Regions from separate parts of the Homo sapiens genome. Here region 1 is linked to region 2. Evidence: promoter capture Hi-C in 16 types of primary human blood cells and fetal thymus (Javierre and others, 2016). All regions are on one chromosome and are shown on one strand. Each heading gives the region's core, a stretch centred on a gene start or on the middle of the fragment in contact. The rest is flanking DNA. Distances are from core to core; before and after follow the strand shown. Region 1 has its middle 170 kb from the start of LINC02703. Region 2 holds the start of CADM1 (cell adhesion molecule 1).

Evidence for each region. Contacts are between HindIII fragments. The CHiCAGO score rates a contact against its expected background, and 5 or more counts as called.
Region 1: a contact is called between a fragment that was not itself captured here and the fragment with the promoter of CADM1 in region 2, in 1 of 17 cell types (M0 macrophages). The highest score is 5.2, in M0 macrophages.

The regions. Positions count from the first base shown.
Region 1 is chr11:116,085,710-116,090,033 of GRCh38, forward strand. No RefSeq gene overlaps it. Among named protein-coding and RNA genes, the nearest start is that of LINC02703, 170 kb to the left of the region's middle. The HindIII fragment of the contact is 1,561 bases long and covers 2,218-3,778 here.
Region 2 is chr11:115,502,208-115,506,510 of GRCh38, forward strand. CADM1 (cell adhesion molecule 1) reads right to left here and starts at 2,208. Exons shown (of 12, transcript NM_001301043.2): 1 at 2,064-2,208. The coding sequence starts at 2,187. RefSeq lists a silencer at 2,234-2,393. The HindIII fragment of the contact is 6,395 bases long and covers 1-4,303 here.

The sequences.
Region 1 (4,324 bases), core at 1,748-4,247, 580 kb after region 2:
TCCCCAGTGCAACAGATCAATTATCAATTAGGCACAAATTTTTATTGAGTATCTATTGTTTGCACAGCACTAGGTGAGGGATAGAAGAGGTGTCAAATGTTCAGACCTTGGCCGTAAGGACCTAGCAAAGGCAATAAGGCATGCCCACAGGAAATTAATATTGCTGTAAGGAAGTGAATGCTTTGCTACTAAATGTGTGAATCAGACCAAAAGAGCTGCTGTAACGGGAATTTGGATCTTGGCTAAATAGAGCCATGCAGCTCTGCCGAACTCCAGAAGTCTCTCAAACTCCCCCTTGTAAAAAGCGCTGAAGTGTTGGGCCCAATGTCACCTTCTGCAATTAAATGGTATCTCTTTATAGCAATGCCGGCACTCAGCGTGCCCTGCTCCAGCTGGTACCAGAAATGTCTAGAACCCAGCCTGGCTCCTCCCTGCCTTTTGGGATAGGGCCTGTGGAAGTGGACTTGAGTGGGTGATTTTTCTGTTTTCTCTGTTTCTACTGTACTTCAATAAATGTACCAAGAATAGCCACCACTTCCTGACTGTGGGGTGCCAGACACTGTGCTAGGTGCCTCACACACGGTGTCCCAATGTAATCCTCCTCCATATGCATAAGCATCTTCAATAAAGAAACTCAGGCTTGGAGAGGTAGGGGGACTTGTCCAGGGTCACCTCACTGACATTCTGACTCCAAAGTGCATGCTTTCCCCGTTAACCCTGTCAAGGTAACTCAGTAATTCCCCAACCTAGTCACATATCATAATATAGAGATGCCTGGGTTCCACCCTACAGATTCTGATCCTCAAGATCTGGGGCAGAGGCCAAGTGCCTGAATTTCTAACAAACTTCCCAGGCTATTACTGCACACCAGTGCTTGAGAATAGGTGCTATTACCTATTTACATGCTGCTTCCTGTTTCCTCCCTCCCCCAGCTGGAGAGTACCTCATGGGCAGGGATTGTGTCTGAGTCACCTCTTTGCCACCGATAATCAATGTGGTACTGGGCACAGTTTAAGTGCTCAATGCATTTGTCTTGAAAATGCTGAGTAGCATTGCACAGTTTCACTCTCCTTGCTGGCATTCTACAGGTAGAATATCAGGTTAACACACCTGCTACCAGTTCCCCAAGACTCAGCTCACGTAATGCCTTGGGGGTCTAGTTTGCAATATGAGCAACATGCCTGCAGCTGCAATGCACTCCCAATTACCCACTCGGGGATCCCTATCTGCTGGGTCCCCTGCCACCACCCCTCGCTCTGTCTGGTGTTGCCTGTTCAGGGAAAGCTGGCTGGATGTCACTTAACATAGTCAAACATAATCAGGAGAATGGAGCTCACAGACAGATTCAGCAGGACATTCTACAACAGCACAGCACTAACCACTGGACAATTCTTGGTGTGAGGTTGAACTCTCTCTTTCCTCCCCAGTCTGTATGGAATTGCCCTGTGAGCTATGTGGAGGCACAAAATGTTTGATGGATAACAACCCAAAAGATTGTTTCCTAAGGCATGTTCCTGGTAGTGTCAATATCCACAGGATGTTAATAAAGGATTCTGCAAAATTTGGACCAAACCAGGTTAAACAAAAACAGTTCTCCCTATTATAGGATTTTCAAGAGATGCAATATGCTAATCTGCACTCTGATTATCTATATATATTATGCAGCATTTCTCAAACTTTTCCTTGAATTCTTTTTTCCCCTGGAATTTGTTTTTCCTTACATTTTTTCACTGATGTTCCAAGGAATATGCTTTACAAAATCATGATTGGGTACAATTTTCCTTGCTCCAACCCCCAATGCCTATTTTGCAGATGAAGAAACTGAGAGTCAAGAAAGGAAAAAGCACTTGCCAAGACCTCATAGCTGGTTAGTGCTGGATGTAGGCACGGAACTAGGGGATGCTGAGATCACTTCTGCTCCCAGGATCTCACCTCAGGTTACCCTATGCCTGCAACGTGCTTCATTTAGCCAAGACCAGTGTCAGACTTTCAGCTTCTGGGACACATTCTCTCTTCTCCAGTGTCCAGCCTTTCACTACGCCCAAAGATGAGACACCATGAGTATCCACAGAGCACTCGGTCCTTCCTGAGGTCTACAGCTTGCTGAGCTGTCAACATTGCACTAATTCTAGCACACCCTTCTCCCTCTCTCCTTTCTTGCCCTCTCCTTCCCTTCTTTGCCTTATCTCTTTCCTTTTCTCTTCTCTCATCCTCCCAAGCTTACTACAGTTCCTGAGCCTCTCACAGCCCAGGGAGGAGCAGCACACAGGAGTCCTGGATTTCAAGGAACTGGAGGCTTTGAGAGGAGAAGAAATGTGTCTGAATCATTTAGCTAGCAAAATGACAGACCCGGGACTTGAATCCAGGGCTTCAGTCTTATTCTGCATCTTTGACTACACATCTCTGGTGCCAGAAAGCTCTATCTCTGCTCACTATGTGGTAAGTGAACACTGTGCCTGGCCAGGCCCCTTAATAGGCTGAGAAGCTCTTTGCCACCCAGCTCGAGCAGGGCTCGCTAACCTCACCCTCCAGGGATGGGGAAGCAGAGTGAGTGATACATTCCCCCTGGTGTGACTACATGTCTAATTCCTTCTCAGGGCCTTCTTAAGCCCTTGGCCTCAATTATGTTCCATGACCAGCAAGTGACACAAATTAATTATCTGCTTGGAAAAGAAGGGCTTTCTTTTATCTGTTTGAAAGTGGTCACCTTCTCATTTCAAGGATTGGCCTCATAAATTCCAAGGAAGGACAAAGAAGATGGCTACCAGCAGGAGGGAGACAGCAGAAGAAAGGAAAGAGATAAGGCAAAGTGAAGAGGGAGAGGGCAAGAGAGGAGAGAGGGAGTACAATGTGCAAGAGTTAGTGCAATGTTAAAGGCACTAGCATAGACAACCTTAGACACTGGCAGGGCAAAAAGGAGGGGTGCTTCAAACTATTAAGGGAGAATAGATGTCAAGAAAGGGCTTTCATATTTAAGCTGAGTATTAAATGGTTCAGAAAATATAGGCTTCATGAGGACAGGAACCATCTTTATTTGGTTCACCATTGTGTCACCTGTGTCCATCATAGTGGTTCGCATATAGTAGGTGCTCAATAAACATCCATCTATTCAATGAATTAATTAATCAGTAGACACTGGCCAAGCAAATGAAGCAGGAAAAGCCATTGAAGGAAGATGGCAGCATGATTAAAGATGATTAGAATGACCAGCAGTTCTCCACCACTGGCACATGGCATATGTGTTGAGGGATGGAGGGATGGTCAGGAACTGATCTGACTGGTCTGTGCTGCGTGTTCTTGATAATAATGAAATGACAGCAAATTCATTTTACATCTAAAATCCCATTTCATCCTCACAGTCACTCTGTGAAGGGTACAAGAAGGCTCAGAAGGCTTACAAGTTCCCAGAGCAGGAACCAGTACTTGATTATTAACCTAGATCCTGTGATCTTTCTCTAGTATCTGCTTGGGGATGACCCCTAGCCCTCAGTACCTTTCCTCCTCTGAGCATCCTCCAGGCTGGGTTCAGAGCACAGACATGTGTTTTCATAACAATAAGTGGCAAATTTTCTTTAAAAATATTATCTGATTCATTCCACAGGCAAATAGGTGATCATGTTTTCATCATACATTCTTTCCAACTCCCTGTGCCTCTGCAGCTACCCTCATTCAACTAAGGTGGGGGTTATCTAAGGGTGGCTACAGAGAAGTGGGTGAGGGCTTTATGCTGTTTCTCTTGTTCCAGGCTAAAGGGAAAGAGAGAGAAATGCTTAAGATAAGCTTATAGACAGACATGGGCTCCAAGAGCTGGGCACACACCAAAGCACATTCTACCAGGAAGTATTTTAAGGACAGGGTGCAAAGGCATTAAGGGCCAATCCCTGGCCAACAGATACCTGCACCCAAGTGATGCAGGAGGCCAGGCAGGGCCAGGAGAGCGAATGGTGTGGGAATAAATTGTTCTTCATGCATGCTTCCTGCTAAGGCCATGGGACGTGGTGATACAAAGGTGATTTAAAGCCAGACAAACCTACTTTTAAATCCTGGATCCGCCATGGGCTAGTTAGATGAACTCAGCTGTTATATCAAATGCATGTAAAGGTTAATAAGGGTCACATACAGAATCTCATGTGAACCCCATAGTACTGGTTGATAGTATGGGGGTAAGTGTTTGTTATAAACCCCATTTTTAGATGAGCAAACTAAGGATCAGAGAGTAATTTGGCCAAAGTTACCCTGAAAGCAATAGATCTAAGACCTCTATGCTCAAAATCCCATGACCTGTCACTATGCTACACTGAGCCAGAGAGGCCAAAGCCCCTGA
Region 2 (4,303 bases), core at 958-3,457:
AGCAGTCTTGACAGGGGAGGCATAATCTAATCCTACTTCTGCTGCCAAGCGTCATTGCACGACTCCCATTTTTAGTCAAAAAGCAATATCCCCGACCACAGCTTTCCACCGCCCCCCGGCTTTTTTTTTTTTTTTTTTTTTTTTTTTTGCAGCCAATACAAGTCTATTGTTGCCTCTATTATGCGCCAGTTACCGAGCCTTTACTCACGCTCACGTTTAACTGACACTGGCGCTTTTTACAATGCAGCAGCACGAGGGATCTCTTTCAGGAACATTTTATTGAACCCATCCAGTCAGAGGCATCACCTGAAATGAAGTTGTAACCACACCGGCATCGGCTGAACCCAATTATCTCGTAACTCATAAATTAAGAATTCACAGAGGAAAAACACATAAACAACATCCGGAGACAGTGGCATGGAGGAAAAAAACCCTCAGCGCTGGAATTGACGCTGCTGCCAGACGCCCCCCAATAGGTTTCCCAAGCCGAGCTCCTTTGCAAGCCTATTTTGGGGGCAAGCAGCCAACCCGGCGTCCCCCAAATCTCAAGCTAGCACCCCCACACATCCCCCGTCTCCTACAGCGTGTCTCCTGCGGTGTTTACATAACTGTGTGTCCTCTAGCGTGTAAACAAAAGGCACAGCCCAAGCGGAGAGGCGCCCCTGAAGCAGCACCGTGGCCCCAACGCTGTGCCCGCCCGGGCCTGGGGCTCCGCAGGTGGGGGCTGAGCTCTCGGCGTCCTCCGCCACTTGTTGCTCCCGGGTCCTGCAGCTCTGGAGCTGCAAGGAGGGGCTTTGCAGGCTCAGAGCCCTGCTGCATCCCCTCCTGCATCGCCGCTCGCACCCCGCGGCCCCGTGCCACTCGGTCCCGGCGCCCGCCTGGAGCCTGCAGCAGGGGCCAGAGGACGCCGCGCGGCTGCCAAGCGCGGCGAGGTGGCGGGAAGGGAGGCTGGGTGCAGCACAGCCGGCCTCTCCGCTGAGGAAGAGCTCCGGCTCCCTTTTGTTAGCAAAAGCAAACACTGCCCTCTTCTTTCCCGACCGCGCCAACGCGCCCGGCACACGGGCAGCCACACATCGGGCTCCAGCCGAGTGCTCGGTGTCTTCAGGGAAGGCACCGGGCGTGCAGAGCCGCCCCTGGGCAAATTCCCAAGACTGCTCTTCACGCAGGGAGCGCGCGGAGGCCCGCAGGGTGCCCGCCTGGCCGCAGAGGCCGCGACGCCCCCTCCGCCACCCTCGGGCCGCCGAAAGAACGGGCAGCCGGGAAATCCCGTGTCCCCACTCGTGGCAGAGGACGCTGTGGGGCGGGCGGGCTGCGGGCTCCCGGCGCCTTCCCGCAGAGGCGGCGACAGCGGCCGCCCCCCCCGCGGGGCCGGGCCGGGGAACTTTCCCCGCCTGGAGCCGGGCCAAAAAGACCCGCAGCAGAGCCGAGGGGGCGGAGGGCTGCGAACGGCCGGAGGGAAACACGAGAGGCGTGCAGTTTGGGGACAGGGGAGAAAGGCAGAGCGCGTTGGGGGAAGGGGCAGGGGAGATCAGACAAGTCTGGGGATGTCCTGGGGACCGGGGAGAAATCACGCCGCGGGCGGCTGGGAGTCAGCCACCAGGAGGCTTCGGGGATGGAGAACTGGGGGGGCCCTCTGGAGAGGTGGGGGCGAATGGACAGCCCTGGGAGGTGGGAGGACCTGCAAGTTACGGGGAGAACGGCGAGTTTAGAAGGGTCCGGAAGGGTTGAGGTTGTCTTTGAACCATCCCCTTCCCCCATGCTTTACAGCCCCCGGGCCCCCCATTCTCACTCCACTCTGCACCCCGCGCCAAGCCGGGGAGAGAAGGTGTGGGTGCAGCCATCCCTGGGGACTCTCATTCACACTTAGCCGGGCAGGGGAGAAGGGGCTCACAGATGCCCTCAGCCCCTTCCCTCTCAGCCCTGAGTTTCCTCTCCACACTCCCTCCGCTTCGGATGTAGGAAGTGGGGGGAGGTTGTCATGGAAACGTTTCCCCCCTCTGTGGCCAAGGCTACTGGGGTGCCTTCGGAGATTTAGGGGCCAACCGGTCGGTGCCCACACCTACCTGTGGGGATCAGTGCCGCGGCGGAGAAGAGCAACAGCAGAAGCCGGAGCCGGAGCCCGGGAGGCGCCGCCGCCGCCGCTGCCGCCGCACACTGGGATCCGCTCGGCAGCACTACACTCGCCATGTCGGGCACCTGCCTCAGACTGGCGGCGTTGGCTGCCTCCGGAGCCCGAGCGGACAGCTAATGAGATGCTAATGACATGCGCTGGAGGCGGAGTCCGGGCAGACCAATCACAGCGCCGCGAGCCCAACCCGGCTCTCGGAGGGCCTCGCTCCCTCCCCCACCCCGCCCCCTGGCGCTGGCGTTCGGCGGCGCGCCCGCGCCACCTAGGGGCGGGGCCAAGGGGAGGGGCGTATGCAAATATGTTTATGTTAAAATTCGGGTTTTGCTTTCCCCGGATCAAGGAAAAAGTGTTCTCCCGGGCGCCTGGCGTGCAAGGACTCGGGCTCCAGGGGGCGGGTCTAGCTTCTTGTACACCTTTATTAGGAATGTTTATAGCAATCGCTGTATCAGACCGACGACTGGAGAATCTCCCTTAAGAGGGTCCTCTGTCCCGCACACCGAGTGCATCTGGCCTAGCGAACCAGACGTTGCAAATTTCCGTCACTCACCTTGCACCGAAGGAATAGATCTTTGGGAACGGGGGCTGTGCGGGAGTGGAGAGTAAGAAGGCAGGTCCCCGGATTGACAAAACAATCTGGGAGAAGTGCATGCGTGCTTTGCACGTCCGGCGGAGCGGGAGAGCCCGCTCAACAGCCTAGCGGTAGACTCGGGGATAGTTGGAGAAGGCAGCCGTAGAGTCGGGTTCTGAGATTTTCCAGTCGGTCTTTTTGCGGCAGAATCTCGGGAAAGGTAGATCGAGGAGGGTATGCTCAGGCTCCTCCGCTTGTCGAGGGTCTCCTCCCTGGTTTTAATATATAGGTGTGTGTTGAATATATGTGTGAAATATTTGTAATATTAGATATTTAAGATTACACAACAACGGAAAAAATTAGTCAAGGCTTCAGGTGAAGAGCGGGGGTGGTGGGAGTTGGGGAGAGGGAGTGTGGTGAAGGCAGGGTCTGCCGTGTTCCTCCTTCGGGGCTCAAACCCTCTCACTCCTCCTCTGCGCCCCCAGCCCTTCCTAAGGAAGCTGGGGACCAACAGGTGCTCCGAGCTTCCCCTGTCTCTGGGAGAGCCTCTCCTGCTAAAGCGACTTGCATCTCCGGACTCACTCTCCCTCCCCGAAATTCTCTTTGCTTTCTTTTCAGCCAGGCAGCCGGCTCTCTTGTTTGTCTGCTTTTTAATTACTTATTTTCTTCCCCTCTAGAAGATCGTGTGCGCTCTGACCCTCTGTTGCTCAAGCATCAAATTGAAGGACGAGCCATATTAAGTGTAAAGGTTTATAATAATTTAAGTATTCATAGAATGCAGAACAATAAGATGTAGGAAATACAATTTGCATAATAAATATCAATATCACAACAGCTAAAACAAACCATGACAAATTATCTGTGGCTAAATGACCAAGAGATTACTGAATGTAAATTGCTAAGTCTGAGCTATAGTCTAGAAGAGCTGCGCCAAATGACTTCCCCAGCCTTCTGTCCTCATCTTGCTATAAAATAAATAAATAATACATATCAAAAAGGAAGTCATGATCTGCCAACCCACCAAATGAGTTACACTTAAAAACAGCCTCCTATTATCCATTATGCATAAACTAATTTCGAGACTGCCCGGTCTTCACAGCCCTGGATATTCTGCTCTGTAATTACAGGCCCCGATGCATGAACTGCAGGCAGTCCTTCAGAAGTGGGGAAAGCTCCAACAGGAGAACAGCACTACAGGAGACAGGAAACCATTGCCACGTGGGTGCCAGGATAATGCCCAGTCTGCAAAGTCCTACCCGTTCTTACTACCTCTGGCAGTGAGGTACCTGGGTCGGACCAAATAGAGAGCAAAGTTCCACCAAAATTGGAATAAAAAAGTTAAGGCCAGCCGGGCACGCTGACTGATGCCTGTAATCCCAGCACTTTGGGAGGTTGAGGCAGATGGATCACCTGAGGTCAGGAGTTCGAGATCAACCTGGCCAACACGGCGAAACTCCGTCTCTAATAAAAATACAAAAATTAGCCAGGCGTGATGACACACACCTGTAATCCCAGCTACTCAGGAGGCTCAGGCAGGAGGATCACTTGAACCCAGGAGGCGGAGGTTGCAGTGAGCTGAGATCGCATCATTGCACTCCAGCCTGGGC